Linked DNA regions of Homo sapiens: regions 1 and 3 are each linked to region 2. The links are contacts of gene promoters, found by promoter capture Hi-C in blood cells and fetal thymus (Javierre and others, 2016). All regions are on one chromosome and are shown on one strand. The core of a region is centred on a gene start or on the middle of the fragment in contact, and the rest is flanking DNA. Distances in the headings are between cores, read along the strand shown.

Region 1 (3,390 bases), core at 690-3,189, 180 kb before region 2:
TAGTTTGCTGCGTGTTTGCTCCATCTGTGCCGAACAGCACATCCAGATTTTCAGACACAACAAAAATGCACACTTGGTGCCTATTACCCAGCAATAGTCAGCCACAAGTTTCAGATAAAGGTCAAAAGTGAAATGCCTTTAGGAGTTCCCTCAAAATCTTAAAATAAAAGTCACATTCCAAACTTCATAATTCTCATGAATACATCACAAAGTCACCATTATGCCATTGAAAACGAAAACAATTCTATGCTTGTATTACAAGAGAAAGTATTCAAAAAATGAATTATATAGAATCTTCAAGTTCTTGCTCACAAATCATGGTTTGCTTTGGCTTAGCAGCGCCGCATGGCATGGGCTTTACGTATTACACCTCTGAAGACAGAGGACAATCCCACGCCTACATCTGCAACACCAAATTTGGTGTGTTGGTTTTATAAGTGGCCTCGAAAAATCCCCTTTTCAATAATTCTGGTAAGCCTCTTTCATCTTGGTGCTATTCTGAGAACTTGTAATCTTGCTAGTAATACATGAATATAAATGTGAAGGAGAATTTTCTTTCTTTTTTCAAGACCTAGAGCCTTTCTTATATTCTTTCAACGAACACATGTTATGAAATACATCCGAGATCTGGCTGAAGGTTTCTTACTCTAATGCTCTGCCTTTGTGTTCAATATATGCAACTATCTACTTAGATCGCCGTATTATACTTTGTTTGCTTCAGGAGTGATCCAATTCCTTTGGATCAGTAAAATATGGCTTTTCTCCTCACCCCAACCATGTGTCCCATTTTTTTAGCCACTCGAGCATAAAAACAATTCTGCAGCTCTAAACTTTTTCAGAAAACAGAACATCCTTTGGCCAGAGAACTCAACAACATCTTTGACACCATCAACTGGCTTGTGTAAGCCACAAAACGTGGCCGGCACTCTCTCCCGTTTTCTTCTCTTGGGATAACAGCTGTAAGGAGCAACACTGTTCTGTGATGACACGACTCTGGGAAGACTAACCTCCCCCCGCCATCTCCTACAGCCAGAATTCTTATTTCCCAAAACAAAACGTGAGAAGCAGAAATACTGAGAATTTTTTAATGTTCCAAAAAGTACTCTGTGCTCCTTGAAGGACATTTTCTGACATTATTTCAAAATACTTTATGAACAGTAATTAATTCTTGAGAAGGACCAAAGGAGAACCCAGATGTGCCATAAGCCAAAAACAGCCAGATCATTCACAAACTGCAGTGAAGGGAAAGAGAAGAGGAAGTGGTTACCTGCTGCAATATAGAGAGAAAATGTTTAAAAAAAACAGTAGGAAGCTTAGATTTCCACTATGGGGGCTCACACAGAAACTCAATTTCATCAAAAATCTATAAATTAAGTAATTAAGAAGACTAGTCAAGATTTGGGTAGACCCTTGATCAAAGAGTAAAGTCTTACCCACTTTACCTCCACTATCTGAAATAATTAGTACCTCTCAGCCAATGAATTTTCACAAAATAAGGGACTCTTCTTCTAATGGTATGGCCGTTTACCAATCTGGCAGGAACATCAATTCCCCTCTCACATTTTAGTAAACTTACTCAACCCATCTGTTTCTCTGCCCTTCAGAGAGTCGGCACACAGTTCTGTGGATGTTTTCTGCAAAAGGCCCTGACATCTACAGTTTCTTTCGCATTCCCCTGGCCACCTTCCCTGCTCAGATCTCCATCAGTTTATGCCTGAAACACAACAGCTCCCTTCAGTTTTCCTGGCTGCGTGTCCTCGCCTCACCTTAGGGCCTGCTTACCATTATCCACCTAGTCTTACTTAAGAGGATTCTCCCCAGCAAAGACCCTTGGTCACAAATCACCAATTACTCACCAGTTTCTAGTGTATAAAACTTTTACAATTTGACCTCTCTCCCCTTGTCAGAATTCCCTACCAATGCTGGAGAGGTGGCATATCAATGTCAATATTGTAAACTTGGATTCAGACAGACCTGAGTTTGAATACTAGTGGAGAAAAGTCCTTGACCTTTTGTTTTCTCATCAATAAAATGGGAGTAAGACAACCCACCTCACACTGTCATTGCGCAGACTGTGGGGGACTCATGTAGAGTACTGGCACATCAAGGGAAGCTGGTGGTGACTCTTAGGTATTATCACTTTCCTACTCATGCTGTGCATTCTAAGCTGTTCATTGTGTCTCCTCAATGCCATCTTCATCCCTACTGTACCTTCCCTGGCATGGCTGCATCCACGCAAGTCACCCTGTCCTCACTTCCAATGCACATCCTTTAGATTAGCAATGGCAAGCTGGTTTCAACTCAAGTGTCAATTCCTACCAGTCAAGGATGGCTGCAGGAGCTCTGAATTGGGGAGAATTTTGAGGCCCTGCCAAGGTCATTGAGATGAAGTGCTCTCACATAACTGTGTGTCCTACCCTGGGACATGGCTTCTCCAAGCACAGGGTCTGTACCCTGAAGTATATGTCCCTGAATGGCATCCCTGCTGTGCCTACTGATTCTCCTGACCTGTTTTGGGGCACCTGTGTTGGCTTCCAGGGATCATGAACTCTTTATTTAAGTATTCACAAGCTTTCTGTCAAAAAAAATCAATTTGGAAATATAATTGTCCATGCTAAGTTCACTGATATGTGATTTCTGGAATTCAATTTTGTTCTTTCGTGGCCATCGGAACATTGCCCTCTCCAATCTTCCTGCATGTCTCCACATTTCAAAATCAAAATGAGCCAGTGATCCCAGTCGCTTCCAGGTGCCCCTGAGGCCCTGGGGCCTCACCTCCAAGCATAAAGGCTTCAGTTAGTTTTAAGCAATTGCATGGTATCTTTCTCTCTCTTTGCCTTGCCTGTGATTCAGTTCTCTCCTTACCATGTTTTATTTAGTGTTCCCAGTTTGAAGGATGTTCAGTTCTTCATAGGAAAGACAGAGACTGAAGAGTAATTACTTGATTCTCTCTGTCATCAAATAATATAATATGTTCAGAAAAGACGAGTCATCGAATCAGAGATTTCAGGAAAAGAGAGGTTCAAGAAAATAAAGAATAATGTAGACTAGAAAATTTTATGTCAGCAGCTAGTTTTTAAATCATACATTTGCTTTTTGACATTGAATAGAAGTGGCTAATAAGCCAAATGTGAAATGTGTTGATGTCACTAATGTAGGGAGATGAGAATGTGAGCCGTGCCCAAGCCATGATGTAAACTCACTAAGAACAGCAAGAATACAAAGGGAAGGGCCAAGGTGTCTGGGCGCCCCATAGGCACACGCACACTCTCACGCACACACACGCACATGTGCACCTGCACACACCTTTCTGTGTATACAGACATCTGCATATGCAGACACATGCATACACTCCCTCACATACAGGCACACATATGAACACAATGCACA
Region 2 (3,228 bases), core at 1-2,500:
AAAAAGCTTGCCAGCCATCTTCTCAGATGCCCTCACAGTACAAAGAAGGAAGATATTTTTTTGTCTGTTTTCCACAGGGAGTGCCTGGCAACATTGGTGCTCCCGGACCCAAAGGAGCAAAAGGAGATTCCAGAACAATCACAACCAAAGGTGAGTTCCTCTCTGGCCACGCGGCCCCTGGGGCACTGAGCCTTCCTGTGGGCACCTGCCTGGGCAGCTTCACATGCAAATCCCTTTCTAGGTGAGCGGGGACAGCCCGGCGTCCCAGGTGTGCCCGGGATGAAAGGTGACGATGGCAGCCCAGGCCGCGATGGGCTCGATGGATTCCCCGGCCTCCCAGGCCCTCCCGTGAGTAGCCACAAACTGCGGCAGCTCCGTCCTCTCTTCTTCATCCTTCAGGTTCTCCAAACACCCCAGAAGCAAACAGTATTGACATGAGCACTAAACCAACCTGTGCATAGGACAGGCTGCTCATTCTGCTCATTCTATTTCTAATGAGCAGAAATCAGACTTTTTAGGAAACGGTGAATTAAGTTAGAAGCCAAGCTCCAAATGAACATTTAAAAGTCAACAATCAAAGAAATATTCCTCCTGGTGTAACAGACTAAGAACCCTCCCCCGCCAAAAAAAGTAGACTATTCTAAAATGGGTGGTGGAACCCTATTTTTCCAAGGTAAATCATGAAATATACAATTTCATTTTTGCAACAAACACACACTGGTGTTGAAGGAGGGGCTACCTAGTAGCCTGCAGAGACCCCAGCATCATTTCCTCAGGGGAGGCTGGGGTCAGAGGCGCGGGAGGCAGCCATGGAGGGAGACAAGACCCCTTCCTGTGCACCCTCCAGCCTCTGAGCCTCTCCTGCCACCACGCCTTTCCCACTGCCAGCTCTGGAGCATTCTCTTCTCAGAAGGACCTTGCAACCTTATTTCTCACGTCTTTTTTTCTAGATTCCATTTTCCTCCCTCTAGTCACCAAGCCTGTACCTCCTTAAGCTCTTTGTACTGGTTTCCTGGGGCTGAGGTCACAAACTGCCACAGACTGGGCAGCTTAGACATCAGAAATGTATGGTCTCACAGCTCTGGAGGCTGAAAGCCGACATCAAGGTGTCTGCAGGGCTGGTTCCTTCTGAGACAGTGCGGGAGGATCTGTCCCTGCCTCTCTCCCAGGTTCCCGGAGCTCTGGCATTCCTTGGCTTATAGACGGCTGTCTTCTCTCTGTCTTCTCATCATCTGTCCTCTCTGTGTGTCTGTCTCTGGGCCCAAATTTCCCCTTTTTATAGGGAGAGCGGTCATATTGGAATGGGCCCATCCTAAAGACCTCATCTGACCTTGAGCACCCTCAAAGACCTTATTTCCAAATAAGGTCACATGTCTAGGTCCTGGGGGTTAAGACTTCAGCATCATTGGAGGACGATTGAAGTCATAATCCTCTTTCTCCTCCTCAGAGCCTCACGCCTGAATTCTATTCGCAGCTTATTTGCCTCATTCCATAACCCATGTCTTCTCTAGTTTTAACGTGGGTCATGTCTGTAATAACACTCTTGAGTGCAGTGGTACAATCAAAGCTCACTGCAGCCTCGAACTTCTGGACTCAAGCCATCCTCCTGCCTCAACCTCCCGAGTACCTGGGACCACAGGTGCACACCAGCACACCCACCTAATATTTTTAAAATTTTCTGTAGAGATGAGATCTCTCTATGTTGCCCATGCTGGTCTCAAACTCCTGGGCTCAAGTGATTCTCCTGCCTTGGCTTCCCAAAGCACTGGTTTTATAGACATCAGCCACCACACCCGGCCCACATTTTTACAATTTAAGTGCAGTTTTTTGGGGCCAGAGAACACAGATAATTCTATGATTGGGTATCTTAAAAATCTCATCTGGGAGGCAACAGGGTTAAATAAGAGGCAAAGTCATAATTGGTCACTTTAGCCAGAAGAGGAGGATGAGTGATGATTCCTGTGGTTGGAACAGTCTTTGGCCTGTTCAGTGTCATGTGGGGTGGGGGTGGTGAGTGTATGTGTGGTGTGTGGTGTGCTCATGTGTGTATGTGTGTGGTCCGTTTGAGTCTGGATTTGTTACGGTAGTGGTGGCCTTCCCTGGAGTTGGTGCCTTGTGAAGTTGGTGACCAGGAGGTGCACCTGTCCAGCCATGGGGTTCACCCACCCCTGCGGCTCCCAAGCCTGGCTGCCAGTCCCAGCCCAGCTGGGGGCAGGTGGTCGGAGCAGGGTTAGGGGTAGGGGTGAGGGTTAGGGTCAGGGAGAACCTTGCAGCCTCAGCTTCCCATTCTCGGGGTGTAGGGACTTTCCCAGTGCTTGTGTGCCTTCCTTGTTTGGTGGCATCTCTAAACCAAGAATGTCAACTTCTGCCTTTAGAAAACTCGTGATCCTGCCTGTGCCACCTTCCAGTGGCATCATCCCCACTGCTGTCCACTAAGTTTGGGGCATCTGCCCTGTGATCTCTGCAACAGCCTTGTGTCCCCCTCCCCTGTGAAAAAAAGCTAAAACACAGGGGTACACCACTTAATCAAGGTCTCATAAATAGAGCTGGACCGGTGTCCCTGCCCCGCTCCGTCATGCCTTTGACAAGGAAGGGGCTGTGGTGTCAGTGGAGAGCAGGGTTTGATTTCTTATAAGCAGCTGCCTCATTGTCATGAGAACACCCAGCCTCGTCCCGTGGCTCAGCAGATGAGCGGGAGCTTATGCGCATGGCTGTTCCACCAGCACGTGGGGACAGCACCGAGCCGTGCCGTGGTGTGTGCGCAGATCACACCAGCATCACTGCTGCCAGCCTCCCCACCCCATCCCTGCACCTCCCACCAGCTCCCCCCCGCACCCTGCAGCTGGTGCTTTCATCCACAGGGCAGCCCCTCTCCATTCCCAATCCTGTAATCTCTCCTGACTTCTGAGGCGCACACGGCTCTTTCCTTGTCCAAATTAGCTTCCTTTCCTTTAACAACGTAGCATCTCTTAAAATAACAGCCATTTTACCGATGCTAAATTATAACAACAAAATCATGTGTTTCTTTCTCCACCCACAGTAGAACACAAAAGCCTGTGCCTTCGCTGTTCTGGAGATGAAGGCCCAGGCTGATGCAGGGGAGCTGGCGGGTGGGAAGAGAGAAATGCTCAAGCATGTACATGTGCCTTCCAGAACCGGCTTCCGTGGCATTGCTTAGACTGCTACACAGTCTGTCACTGGCTCCTGTGACCTGGCTGACCATGGCAC
Region 3 (3,186 bases), core at 675-3,174, 230 kb before region 2:
AGGAAAGATCTCAACTCAGAGGACACTAACATTTAGAAGGGTTTTAGAGGTCAGAGTCCCAACTCTTTCCTCTTAGGAGGTTTTCAACTTTAAATCTGAATGACTCGAATTTTTTCACATTGAGAAATTTCCAGCCAATTACACAGTTACTTAAACACAGCTGGGATGCATTTTGTCGCCACACATCACTGTACGTGTCCTGCATCCCAGGATAATAAAAGTGCTGTGTTCTGAATGTCCATGCCCCGCCCCAAATTCCTGTGTGGAAATTCTAACCCCCAAGGTGATGGCATGGAGGTGGGGCCTTGGGAAGTGATGAGGCTCATGAACAGAATTAGTGTTCTTAGAAAAAAGACCCCAGAGAGAGCCCCCGCCCTCGCGCTGCCTATGAAGAAGGGGTCCACAGCCGACCTCGAATCTGCTGGAGCCTTGATCTTGGACTTCCAGCCTCCAGCACGGGAGGAACACACTTCTGCTGCTGAAACCACCCAGTCTGTGGTATCCTATTACAGCATCCTGGGGAGACTAAGAGGAAAAGAAAAAGCCCTATGCCTCTGCCCTGTAAAATGTCAGTAATTTCCTTGGGCCCCACTTCCGACGTTCACCCTCTTGTGGGTGACTTCTGCCGGCTGGCCTTGGCTCTCACTCCACGGTAACTGCCCTCCCAGCTTGGCCCACCAGCTCTCCTGTCCCCTTCCACAGCATCAAATCCACACTGAGTGCCCAAGGGCAGCACCCTCCAAAATCCCCCACTCAGGAAAAAGGAGCAGAACCAAGCCCAAAACAGGTGGACGAGGAGGGCTCCATTCAGGCCACGTGGTGGAGGGGGAGGGCTGGGAGGTTCCTGAAGAAAGTGCGTGTGTGTGTGAGTGTGTGCCCGTGGTGTGGGTGTGCACGGTGTGTGTTCCATGTATATGTAAGTGGTGTGTGTGGTATGTATGTGTGTGTGGTGTGTGTATATGTTATGTGTGTGGTGCGTGTATATGTATGTGTGTGGTGTGTGCGTGTATGTGATATGTGCATGCACGTGATGTGTGCATGCACACATGTGAAGTAGAGAGGACAAAGCACACAGGTGGCAGGCGCGGGTCATCAGGGCTCGTCGTGACACCCTGGAAAATCACACAGGTGTACATGAGCCCTGAACAGAGAGAAAGGAAAAGTGGATGGGAAATTGTGGTGGGAGGAACAGAAAGGGCAGAAATTTTATAAAGGGAAGAAGGGTAAAGGGGGCGAGTGAGGTGGGACGGGTGGTGCACCTCCTCTAAGACCACGGGGAGCCTCCCCAGCCTCCTGCAGAAGCCACTGCACCTCCGGCCCCCACCACACCCTGCCCAGGTCCCTATCAAAGGCCCCCAAAGAAGAAAACACCACTCTGCTTTCTGCCCCAGTCACGCCAGCGTGCTGTTCCTCACGTTTGCTGGAAGTCCCCCCGTGGTATGTTCCTCTGCCCTGACAGGCAGGACACCTGTGGAGCCACGGTCTCCTGTGAAGAAATGCAGGTTCCACGTGCAGAGGCGGAAGCAAGGAGGCCTCCAGCCGCCCGGAACCTCTGCTCCCAGGGCTCCTGATGTGTGGTCCAGGCAGGACAGGGCACACCCGTTTACCCAGGGCCTCTACATTCAGATTCAGGGCAGGGCACCCAGCCCCTCCTCCCAATCAGGAGGCAGAACCCAACACCTGCCACCCACATCAGCCCCGTCAGGATGATTAATGACGTTGCATCCATAAAACTCCAAGAACCTGGAGACAGGGTGCTGCCTCCCAAAGCCCTGACTCAGAAAAACACACAGCATTTCCAGCCCGCGTGGTGAGGAGACAGTCAGTGTGGGAACAAGATCCACCGAGGTGCCTCTTGCCCTTGCCCAGGACATATCGATGAGACTGGGGAGCCCCACATGGGGACACAGAGAGTCAAACAGCGACAAACAGTTTCACACTCATGGAGATGTGTCCTTTAACATTCTGGAGTCTTGTACGTGGAAGTGAGAAGGGGGAGGTGAGGAGGCACAGTTGTCCATGGACATTTCTCAAAGCACCAACATTTCCAAATCGGGAAAAACCTGACGTCAAACAGGGAAATGGAATTTGGAGGCGTAAATCATGGGCCACCGCACCTGAGCGGCTGCCTGAGCTTTTGGGGCCTGCGAATGACCGTTCGGTTTGCCCTTCCCTGCCCCCTGCAGATCAATTTCTTCCCATTGGACATCCATTCTCGCAGCCGTGCCTTCTCCCTCCCTGGAGGTCTTAGCAGAGTGTTCACTTGGGGGTTCAGTTGTGCTATTACTGGCTAGCATCTTCCATCATGAACCTGTAGGGCAGGCTCCAGGACTGCCGCTGGCCACTACCCAGGCCCACGGGTACAGCAGGAGCCCACAGGACAAGGAGGCACTGGGATGAGTGGACATTGGTTCTCCAGCTCAAGGAATTTACTGGCTCTACTATAGACAGATGTCATTCCTTTACCAATCTTCTAGGGAAAACCACTTCAAAATCAAGCATGTCACCACATGCCACAGACTTGGGTACTCAAGTCTTAGGGTTGTGGATTTCTCACCTAGGAGGGCAAATTAACCTAAGGCCCTAACATGCTACAGCGGGACGCCCACAGAAAATTCTCTGGTTAAGTCCTCAAGCTCTAGCAAGACGTGTGTAAGAAATTCACATCTATCATTCATTACCTTCAGGTATTTGTCCAAATATCTAATAAAGGAGAAACCGTACCAAGGGTCTTTAACCCTTCTGATTTCACTACAGCTTTTTAGAAATTAGCCAGGAATCACTGTTAGCTTCTCGTGTCAGATTCTCATGTGAGGAAATCCAGAATCATTGAATTTGGGGCCAGTTAGCATTAAACTCATAAAACTATGTGACGAACCAAAGCTAAGCTATATGAAGTATACTTTTACCATGTTTAATGGATTTGCCAAAGGAAGAAAAATCTGACAAAGGGGCACCACGTCCCCAGAGCCATCTGGTTTGCTCGTTAACTCTGACTAATTCTTCCTTTGTTTAATTGCACATTGTGCTAAACCACTTCACAAGGATGAAGGTCTGTTAATACCATTTTTGAGCGTGCAGTTCTCCACACCCACACTACCTAATTATCTAGCATCACAACTTGCTGTCTAGAAACGTGTTTGAATGCTCAAAATATTCTACCAACAAACAGGAGGAAAATCCCAT

The links. The method cuts DNA at HindIII sites, captures the fragments that hold promoters and counts their contacts. A CHiCAGO score of 5 or more calls a contact.
Region 1: a fragment that was not itself captured here is called in contact with the fragment with the promoter of COL4A2-AS2 in region 2 in 1 of 17 cell types (endothelial precursors); the score reaches 5.8 in endothelial precursors.
Region 3: a contact is called between a fragment that was not itself captured here and the fragment with the promoter of COL4A2-AS2 in region 2, in 1 of 17 cell types (endothelial precursors). The highest score is 6.8, in endothelial precursors.

The regions. Positions count from the first base shown.
Region 1 is chr13:110,280,238-110,283,627 of GRCh38, forward strand. All of the region lies in intron 1 of COL4A1 (collagen type IV alpha 1 chain), which reads right to left. Among named protein-coding and RNA genes, the nearest start is that of COL4A1, 25 kb to the right of the region's middle. RefSeq lists an enhancer at 3,184-3,390. The HindIII fragment of the contact is 1,259 bases long and covers 1,311-2,569 here.
Region 2 is chr13:110,462,037-110,465,264 of GRCh38, forward strand. COL4A2-AS2 (COL4A2 antisense RNA 2) reads right to left here and starts at 1,251. Exons shown (of 5, transcript NR_171022.1): 1 at 987-1,251. COL4A2 (collagen type IV alpha 2 chain) reads left to right here. Exons shown (of 48, transcript NM_001846.4): 23 at 78-150; 24 at 242-348. The HindIII fragment of the contact is 13,540 bases long and covers 5-3,228 here.
Region 3 is chr13:110,229,305-110,232,490 of GRCh38, forward strand. The region is part of intron 2 of COL4A1 (collagen type IV alpha 1 chain); the gene reads right to left. Among named protein-coding and RNA genes, the nearest start is that of COL4A1, 76 kb to the right of the region's middle. The HindIII fragment of the contact is 7,457 bases long and covers 1-3,186 here.